Regions from separate parts of the Homo sapiens genome. Here region 2 is linked to region 1. The links are contacts of gene promoters, found by promoter capture Hi-C in blood cells and fetal thymus (Javierre and others, 2016). All regions are on one chromosome and are shown on one strand. The core of a region is centred on a gene start or on the middle of the fragment in contact, and the rest is flanking DNA. Distances in the headings are between cores, read along the strand shown. Region 1 has its middle 89 kb from the start of XCR1. Region 2 holds the start of CCR5 (C-C motif chemokine receptor 5).

Region 1 (5,068 bases), core at 1,729-4,228:
CTCTCTTCTGGGGTCTCTGTTACCAGTCCCTTGACTTGAGTATAGTGAGTCCACCCCTGTTCAGCTGTTTGCGCGGCCATCTCAGTGGTCAGGAGCACTTGATAGGGACCTTCCCAGCTTGGGTGGAGCTTGTCTTCTTTTCAAGTCTTGATCAGCACCAAGTCGCCAGGCTGGAAGTGGTGAACTGCGAATTTAAGAGGTAGAGTTTGAGTCAGAAGTCCTTTTAACCTGAGGGATGACAGGGTGGAGGATGTGGCCAGTATGTAATTTCTTAAGAATTGATCCTTGGTTTCCATAGTAGGGAGATTTGTAGCTCTGCCTAAATATGGGACCCCATGTAATAACTCATAGGGGAACAATCCTAAGTCTTTTCTTGGGGCTGTTGTAATCCTAAGCAGTGTATTGGGAGACATTTAGTCCAAGACATTTTTGTTTCTAAGATTAGTTTGGTGATATGCTTTTTGAGAGTTTGATTCATTCTTTCTACCTTTCCAGAGGAAGGGGGACATTACGAGGTGTGATAATCCCATCTAATTTGTAAACCTTACATAATTCCCCTTAACATCCTTGAGGTAAAGTGGCTCCCATTGTTTGAATCAGTATTTTCCACCAGGCCAAATCTACGCACAATCTGTTTTAATATTATTTTGACCACATTCTTGGTGGTGGCTGTGGGAAGGGGGAAGGCTTCCACCCAGCCAGAAAGGTAATCTGTGATCACCAGTAAATACTTTAGTTTTCCTACTTTGGGCATTTCTGTGAAATCTACTTGAATGCTTTGAAATGGTCTTAGTCTGGGAGGTTTTCCTCCCATGGGCTGTTTTCTAATTACCTTTTTGTTTATCCTTTGACAAATTACACAACTTCCACATACTTGTTTAGTGAGGGTAAAATTCCTGTAGTATTGCATCACGGAGAGCCTGAGGTCCCCAGTGACTCCCTTTGTGTAATATAGACATTAGTTCTCTCATCAGGGTTTACTGATTGTTTCTCTCCCATCAGGAAGTACTCATTTCTTATTTTTAGTTTAAGTGACCCCTAGTCTGTCTAATTCTTCCTTCTCCTCTCTGGTAAACTGGGGCCTTAATACTACCTTAGGAATGTCTGGGATCCAGCTAAATAGTATAATATCTTCCTCCAGGGAGGCTTGCTTAGCAGCTTTATCTGCAAGCCTGTTTCCTGCAGCTTCTATAGTGTTCCCTTTCTGATGACCATTTACATAAACTATGGCTACTTTGCTGGAAGCAGGAGGCTTTTTACAACCTGTTTGGCCAGTTCCCCATGCACCAATTATTTTCCCCTGCTATTTATTAGGGCCTGCTTTGTTCAGATTTTTCTAAAAATGTGTACCACCCCATAAGCATATTTAGAATCAGTATGTATGGTGCCTTTTTGGCCTTTGAGTTTTAGGGCCTGGTTAAGAGCATATAATTCACAAGTTTGGGCCCACCAGCCATTAGGTAATCTACCCTTCTCACATAAGGAGTGTTTATTTTCATTAAGGACAGCATAACCATTATTTTTCTTGCCATCTATCATTGGGATGACCCATCCACAAACAGCCTTGTCCCATCATGTAGTGGAGCTTCCCTGAGGTCTGATTTAACTTTGGTTTGGTATTCTATGATATCTAACAGTTACAGTCTGATATCTCTTTGTTCTCCTCTCCTTTCCATAGGAAACTGGCTGGATTCAGGCAAGCATTTGTGGTTACAACCAAATCATCTTTTTCTAGTAATATGGCGTCATATTTTAGAAACTGAGAATCCGTTAACTATCTCCCGGCTTTTCAATTTGATACATTCCTGACCTGGTATGGAATGCTTACTATTAGGGCCCCACCAAAGGTTAGTTTTCAACTCTTTTCTACCAGCAGGGCTGTGGCAGCTACTGCTTGCACACATTCAGGCCACCCCTGAGAGACAGGATTGAGAAGCTTGGAGACAAAAGCAACAGGTTGCCTCTTCCCTCCCCAGATTTGAGTGAGCACTCCAAGGGCCATGCCCTGATCTACTGTGACGAACAGATGGAATAGTTTCTTTAAAGACAGAAGGGCCAGGGCCGGGGCTGTGATGAGGGCCTGCTTTAGCTCTTTTACTGCCTGAATTTCCTTTGGGGACCATTGCAAGGGATTGGGTTCCTCTTTAGTAACTTGAGATACAGAATCTCTGTCTTTTGAGCATATGAGTTCATCCATAACCTACAATAGCCAGTTAAACCTAAAAATTTTTGGAGGTTTCTCTTTGTCTAAGGCAAAGGCAGAGCCACTATCCTCGATATTTTCTTTGGGTTTATTTTCTACTTCCCTTCACTAATCAGGTCTCCTAAATATTTAACTTCTTTTTTTTACAAATGGCAATTTGTTCTTAGAGACTCGTAATCCCCTTTTTCCTAGGAAATTAAGCAAGTTTAGGGTGGTTTTTGATTCCTCGGGCCTCCTCTCCCCAGAAATTAAAAGATTATTTACATGTTGTAACATCTGGGTTCCCTCGGAAGGTTGGAATTCCTTCAGGACTTTTTCTAAGACTTTTTCAATTAAGTTTGAGGCTTCTGTGAAAACTTGTGGCAGCACAGTTTGGTGGTACTGTTGTTTTCTCCCAGTTATAGGAATTTCCCATTCAAAGGCAAAGAGGTCCCTACTCCTAAAGTCTAGGGGAAATGCCCAGAATGTGTCTTTTGGATCCACCACACTGAACCACTTATGTTTATAGGGTATCTTACTAAGGAGGGTGTAGGGTTTAGGCACCCTAGGGTGGTGGGTCTGGACAATTTGATTTACAGCCCTTAGATTTTGCAACAATTTATATGACCCACCAGATATTTTGACTGGGAGAATTGGAATATTGTATGGTGACCTGCAGGGTTCTAATAGTCCATCTTTTATCATTTTATTACTGCTTGGAGACCTTTTCTCCCTTCAATAGAAATGGGATATTGTTTTCTGCAAACTACTTTTCCTGGTTGTTTCTCATTCCATCCATCGATCTTTTGTAATTGTTTTATAATGTTAGGCCAGCTCTTAGTTACAAAGACCTTCAAAAGGCCTTGCCCTAATGGGTCCTCTGGATAGAATCCAGAGTGTTTTCTCATCTGATCTTTGAGCCTCTGTAGGAATGCAGAGGGAGTTTCTTCCTTTTTCTTGTTGAATCTTGAATGCCTTTGAAACATTTTGTGTCCTAGGAGTGGACTCTTTGATCCCTTTAATTATTAGTTCCCTGAAGTCTTGCATTCAGGCCTGGTGCCTGGGATCATTATTATCCCATTCGGGATTGACATTTGGAAATTTTTGTTTGGCTGGCAAGACTTCTTGCCTGGGAGGGTGTTGCCTCTCCCAGTTGGTTATGGTCACTCTCCTAATTATTCCCCTTTCTTCTCCTGTGAACAGGATATTCATAATAGACATCATTTCGGCCCAGGTGTAAAAGCTGGGTCTAGGAATTGGTCCAGCTGGTCTGCTAAACCGAGGGGATCTTCTAGGAGTGGTTTCATTTCCTTCTTGAAATTCCTAACATCAGTACTTATAAGAGGAGGATTTACAAAGCCAAGCTCTCCCAGTCCCATGGAAACTTCCCTAAGAGGGAACATGCTAGATGCTTGCTGTGCGGAAGGGATAGGGAAGTTCTCAGTAGTCCTCTTACACTGTTGTAATTGTTTTCTTAGATTTGGATAAGGATTTAAAGAAGTAGATGGTTTGGCTCCCCCATGGTTTCTAATCTTCCCCTAATCCCTTTGTTGCCCCTTGATCTTCCTGTCCCCTATTTTGTGAGACGTATGGAGGAGGCAAGCATGATAGGGGGGTCCCAGAGCTTTTACTAGGCTCTTTTTCTCCTTTCTTGAGGGGGAACATGGGAACTAATTCCTTGATCTGGCAGACAGCATAACCTATCTCTTCTTGTGAGGATGGGGTTTTATTATTTACATAGAGAATTAAAGCTCAGCACACCCAACACTTGTCTGAACCAAACTTAGGCCAAAAGACTGAAGGATTATGAATGGAGTCTTTGGGCCAGATAAAACAGCAAAGCTTTATTATCTTTTGCTTTTCCTTGTCCCTGGTTCAAGGGTTGTCCCTCAAAACCTGTAGCATTCTCCCCAAAGGACTATCCATGGGAATGTCAGAGGGAGTCTTTAGCTCCCTCTTTCCTTTGTCCCCTAGGCCTAGAATTTCTGTTTCCCATTTTCAGTCAGTCTCTGTGTCTGAGCGTTTCCCTGTGTACTCAACACTCCCTCCTGGAGGTTTCTTGCACACCCTGAGAATTACTTGCAGGAGAACGGAACTGCGGATTGGGACTCTGCACTCGCTTTGTATCTAGGATACATCTCAGTCACACATGCTCAACCTCCGAAAATGTCCAACCACCAAGGCAGTACTTATAGTCCAATTCTCCTACCTTGGCTTGTGCACCAGGTTACCTGGTTGTTGTGGTGCCTGCTTTTTTCCCTGTGTTGCCTCTGTTGCCTCCTGAATAACAGTCTCAGATTTGTCTAAGGCCTCTATGGGGAGCTGGGACACCCGGACAGAGTGGGCCTCCTAAATTGAGTGGGCTGCATCTCCCCTCTTGGCCAGAGTCCCACTCCATGCAAACACAGAGATCCCGGATGGATTCCCAAGTTTGTAAGAAACATATTCTCCCATCCAAACTCAAGGAAGATACTTGGAGATAGGAAGAACAGCAGAAGCGAGACTTTTAATGGCAGTCTTGCAAGATCAGGTGTCTGGTAGGCAGGCATACCCGGGGCAGTTACAGCAGGTAATTTATCTCCTAGCATGCAAGTCCCTCCCCCAGTTCCTCATTGGTTGAGTACTATGGGGTTACAATCTTTCCAGATATTGCCTAAGTTTCATTATCCCCTTTATAAGGTTATACTCTGGTCCCCTTCCCTGATTAAGTTTCCATTTCCCAATAATGAAACTTTCTTCCCTTTTATGGGCTGACCCCTCCTCTACATTCTGTTCATTTATTGTGACTTTCTAGGTGCATGAGCCATGTGGTTTATTACATTTGCAGGCTGGTTGCCAGTACTTAGAATTATCATGCCTTGAAAATGGACCATTTAAAATGATTTT
Region 2 (4,929 bases), core at 1,167-3,666, 250 kb after region 1:
CAAAAGTGGAGTAACGCACACTGCAAAGCTGTGCTTCCTTGTTTCAGCCTGTGAATCCTCACCTTGTTTCCCATCTAGCCTATATTTTTCAAACTAACTTGGCCATAGAATCATGTAGTATTTAGGGTGGAAGCTGCCCCAGGTCTAGCACGTCATTTAACAGATGAGGAAATGGAAGCTTGGGCAGTGGAAGTATCTTGCCGAGGTCACACAGCAAGTCAGCAGCACAGCGTGTGTGACTCCGAGCCTGCTCCGCTAGCCCACATTGCCCTCTGGGGGTGAGTATGTCTTCACATCCTCCAATACCCTAATGACAGACAAACAGAACATGGCAAAGCCTCAGCTCTGCATGGTGAAAGTAAGAACCAGCAATTGCCACAAACAGAAATACAGTGTTGGTCCGGCAGCCTCCGGGGGTTCTGCACAAGTGGATTACCAGTGAATACAAGGCTATCTATCTTTCGAAAAACCAAAGTTGTATTTATGCTATCTATTTTCTATAAAATTTTATATTAATTTATTTGTTACCTATTTTTGAACTCTTTCAAAAGCACACTTTATATTTCCCTGCTTAAACAGTCCCCCGAGGGTGGGTGCCCAAAAGGCTCTACACTTGTTATCATTCCCTCTCCACCACAGGCATATTGAGTAAGTTTGTATTTGGGTTTTTTTAAAACCTCCACTCTACAGTTAAGAAAACTAAGGCACAGAGCTTCAATAATTTGGTCAGAGCCAAGTAGCAGTAATGAAGCTGGAGGTTAAACCCAGCAGCATGACTGCAGTTCTTAATCAATGCCTTTTGAATTGCACATATGGGATGAACTAGAACATTTTCTCGATGATTCGCTGTCCTTGTTATGATTATGTTACTGAGCTCTGTTGTAGCACAGACATATGTCCCTATATGGGGCGGGGGTGGGGGTGTCTTGATCGCTGGGCTATTTCTATACTGTTCTGGCTTTTCCCAAGCAGTCATTTCTTTCTATTCTCCAAGCACCAGCAATTAGCTTTACCTTTTCAGCTTCTAGTTTGCTGAAACTAATCTGCTATAGACAGAGACTCCGGTGAACCAATTTTATTAGGATTTGATCAAATAAACTCTCTCTGACAAAGGACTGCTGAAAGAGTAACTAAGAGTTTGATGTTTACTGAGTGCATAGTATGTGCTAGATGCTGGCCGTGGATGCCTCATAGAATCCTCCCAACAACTCATGAAATGACTACTGTCATTCAGCCCAATACCCAGACGAGAAAGCTGAGGGTAAGACAGGTTTCAAGCTTGGCAGTCTGACTACAGAGGCCACTGGCTTAGCCCCTGGGTTAGTCTGCCTCTGTAGGATTGGGGGCACGTAATTTTGCTGTTTGGGGTCTCATTTGCCTTCTTAGAGATCACAAGCCAAAGCTTTTTATTCTAGAGCCAAGGTCACGGAAGCCCAGAGGGCATCTTGTGGCTCGGGAGTAGCTCTCTGCTGTCTTCTCAGCTCTGCTGACAATACTTGAGATTTTCAGATGTCACCAACCGCCAAGAGAGCTTGATATGACTGTATATAGTATAGTCATAAAGAACCTGAACTTGACCATATACTTATGTCATGTGGAAAATTTCTCATAGCTTCAGATAGATTATATCTGGAGTGAAGAATCCTGCCACCTATGTATCTGGCATAGTGTGAGTCCTCATAAATGCTTACTGGTTTGAAGGGCAACAAAATAGTGAACAGAGTGAAAATCCCCACTAAGATCCTGGGTCCAGAAAAAGATGGGAAACCTGTTTAGCTCACCCGTGAGCCCATAGTTAAAACTCTTTAGACAACAGGTTGTTTCCGTTTACAGAGAACAATAATATTGGGTGGTGAGCATCTGTGTGGGGGTTGGGGTGGGATAGGGGATACGGGGAGAGTGGAGAAAAAGGGGACACAGGGTTAATGTGAAGTCCAGGATCCCCCTCTACATTTAAAGTTGGTTTAAGTTGGCTTTAATTAATAGCAACTCTTAAGATAATCAGAATTTTCTTAACCTTTTAGCCTTACTGTTGAAAAGCCCTGTGATCTTGTACAAATCATTTGCTTCTTGGATAGTAATTTCTTTTACTAAAATGTGGGCTTTTGACTAGATGAATGTAAATGTTCTTCTAGCTCTGATATCCTTTATTCTTTATATTTTCTAACAGATTCTGTGTAGTGGGATGAGCAGAGAACAAAAACAAAATAATCCAGTGAGAAAAGCCCGTAAATAAACCTTCAGACCAGAGATCTATTCTCTAGCTTATTTTAAGCTCAACTTAAAAAGAAGAACTGTTCTCTGATTCTTTTCGCCTTCAATACACTTAATGATTTAACTCCACCCTCCTTCAAAAGAAACAGCATTTCCTACTTTTATACTGTCTATATGATTGATTTGCACAGCTCATCTGGCCAGAAGAGCTGAGACATCCGTTCCCCTACAAGAAACTCTCCCCGGTAAGTAACCTCTCAGCTGCTTGGCCTGTTAGTTAGCTTCTGAGATGAGTAAAAGACTTTACAGGAAACCCATAGAAGACATTTGGCAAACACCAAGTGCTCATACAATTATCTTAAAATATAATCTTTAAGATAAGGAAAGGGTCACAGTTTGGAATGAGTTTCAGACGGTTATAACATCAAAGATACAAAACATGATTGTGAGTGAAAGACTTTAAAGGGAGCAATAGTATTTTAATAACTAACAATCCTTACCTCTCAAAAGAAAGATTTGCAGAGAGATGAGTCTTAGCTGAAATCTTGAAATCTTATCTTCTGCTAAGGAGAACTAAACCCTCTCCAGTGAGATGCCTTCTGAATATGTGCCCACAAGAAGTTGTGTCTAAGTCTGGTTCTCTTTTTTCTTTTTCCTCCAGACAAGAGGGAAGCCTAAAAATGGTCAAAATTAATATTAAATTACAAACGCCAAATAAAATTTTCCTCTAATATATCAGTTTCATGGCACAGTTAGTATATAATTCTTTATGGTTCAAAATTAAAAATGAGCTTTTCTAGGGGCTTCTCTCAGCTGCCTAGTCTAAGGTGCAGGGAGTTTGAGACTCACAGGGTTTAATAAGAGAAAATTCTCAGCTAGAGCAGCTGAACTTAAATAGACTAGGCAAGACAGCTGGTTATAAGACTAAACTACCCAGAATGCATGACATTCATCTGTGGTGGCAGACGAAACATTTTTTATTATATTATTTCTTGGGTATGTATGACAACTCTTAATTGTGGCAACTCAGAAACTACAAACACAAACTTCACAGAAAATGTGAGGATTTTACAATTGGCTGTTGTCATCTATGACCTTCCCTGGGACTTGGGCACCCGGCCATTTCACTCTGACTACATCATGTCACCAAACATCTGATGGTCTTGCCTTTTAATTCTCTTTTCGAGGACTGAGAGGGAGGGTAGCATGGTAGTTAAGAGTGCAGGCTTCCCGCATTCAAAATCGGTTGCTTACTAGCTGTGTGGCTTTGAGCAAGTTACTCACCCTCTCTGTGCTTCAAGGTCCTTGTCTGCAAAATGTGAAAAATATTTCCTGCCTCATAAGGTTGCCCTAAGGATTAAATGAATGAATGGGTATGATGCTTAGAACAGTGATTGGCATCCAGTATGTGCCCTCGAGGCCTCTTAATTATTACTGGCTTGCTCATAGTGCATGTTCTTTGTGGGCTAACTCTAGCGTCAATAAAAATGTTAAGACTGAGTTGCAGCCGGGCATGGTGGCTCATGCCTGTAATCCCAGCATTCTAGGAGGCTGAGGCAGGAGGATCGCTTGAGCCCAGGAGTTCGAGACCAGCCTGGGCAACATAGTGTGATCTTGTATCTATAAAAATAAACAAAATTAGCTTGGTGTGGTGGCGCCTGTAGTCCCCAGCCACTTGGAGGGGTGAGGTGAGAGGATTGCTTGAGCCCGGGATGGTCCAGGCTGCAGTGAGCCATGATCGTGCCACTGCACTCCAGCCTGGGCGACAGAGTGAGACCCTGTCTCACAACAACAACAACAACAACAAAAAGGCTGAGCTGCACCATGCTTGACCCAGTTTCTTAAAATTGTTGTCAAAGCTTCATTCACTCCATGGTGCTATAGAGCACAAGATTTTATTTGGTGAGATGGTGCTTTCATGAATTCCCCCAACAGAGCCAAGCTCTCCATCTAGTGGACAGGGAAGCTAGCAGCAAACCTTCCCTTCACTACAAAACTTCATTGCTTGGCCAAAAAGAGAGTTAATTCAATGTAGACATCTATGTAGGCAATTAAAAACCTATTGATGTATAAAACAGTTTGCATTCATGGAGGGCAACTAAATACATTCTAGGACTTTATAAAAGATCACTTTTTATTTATGCACAGGGTGGAACAAGATGGATTATCAAGTGTCAAGTCCAATCTATGACATCAATTATTATACATCGGAGCCCTGCCAAAAAATCAATGTGAAGCAAATCGCAGCCCGCCTCCTGCCTCCGCTCTACTCACTGGTGTTCATCTTTGGTTTTGTGGGCAACATGCTGGTCATCCTCATCCTGATAAACTGCAAAAGGCTGAAGAGCATGACTGACATCTACCTGCTCAACCTGGCCATCTCTGACCTGTTTTTCCTTCTTACTGTCCCCTTCTGGGCTCACTATGCTGCCGCCCAGTGGGACTTTGGAAATACAATGTGTCAACTCTTGACAGGGCTCTATTTTATAGGCTTCTTCTCTGGAATCTTCTTCATCATCCTCCTGACAATCGATAGGTACCTGGCTGTCGTCCATGCTGTGTTTGCTTTAAAAGCCAGGACGGTCACCTTTGGGGTGGTGACAAGTGTGATCACTTGGGTGGTGGCTGTGTTTGCGTCTCTCCCAGGAATCATCTTTACCAGATCTCAAAAAGAAGGTCTTCATTACACCTGCAGCTCTCATTTTCCATACAGTC

What was found. Contacts are between HindIII fragments. The CHiCAGO score rates a contact against its expected background, and 5 or more counts as called.
Region 2: a contact is called between the fragment with the promoter of CCR5 here and a fragment that was not itself captured in region 1, in 2 of 17 cell types (M0 macrophages and monocytes). The highest score is 7.8, in M0 macrophages.

The regions. Positions count from the first base shown.
Region 1 is chr3:46,113,600-46,118,667 of GRCh38, forward strand. No RefSeq gene overlaps it. Among named protein-coding and RNA genes, the nearest start is that of XCR1, 89 kb to the left of the region's middle. The HindIII fragment of the contact is 2,088 bases long and covers 1,935-4,022 here.
Region 2 is chr3:46,368,530-46,373,458 of GRCh38, forward strand. It overlaps CCR5 (C-C motif chemokine receptor 5), which reads left to right and starts at 2,417. Exons shown (of 2, transcript NM_001394783.1): 1 at 2,417-2,459; 2 at 4,363-4,929. The coding sequence starts at 4,374. CCR5AS (CCR5 antisense RNA) reads right to left here. Exons shown (of 4, transcript NR_125406.2): 3 at 2,715-2,888. The HindIII fragment of the contact is 2,671 bases long and covers 1,401-4,071 here.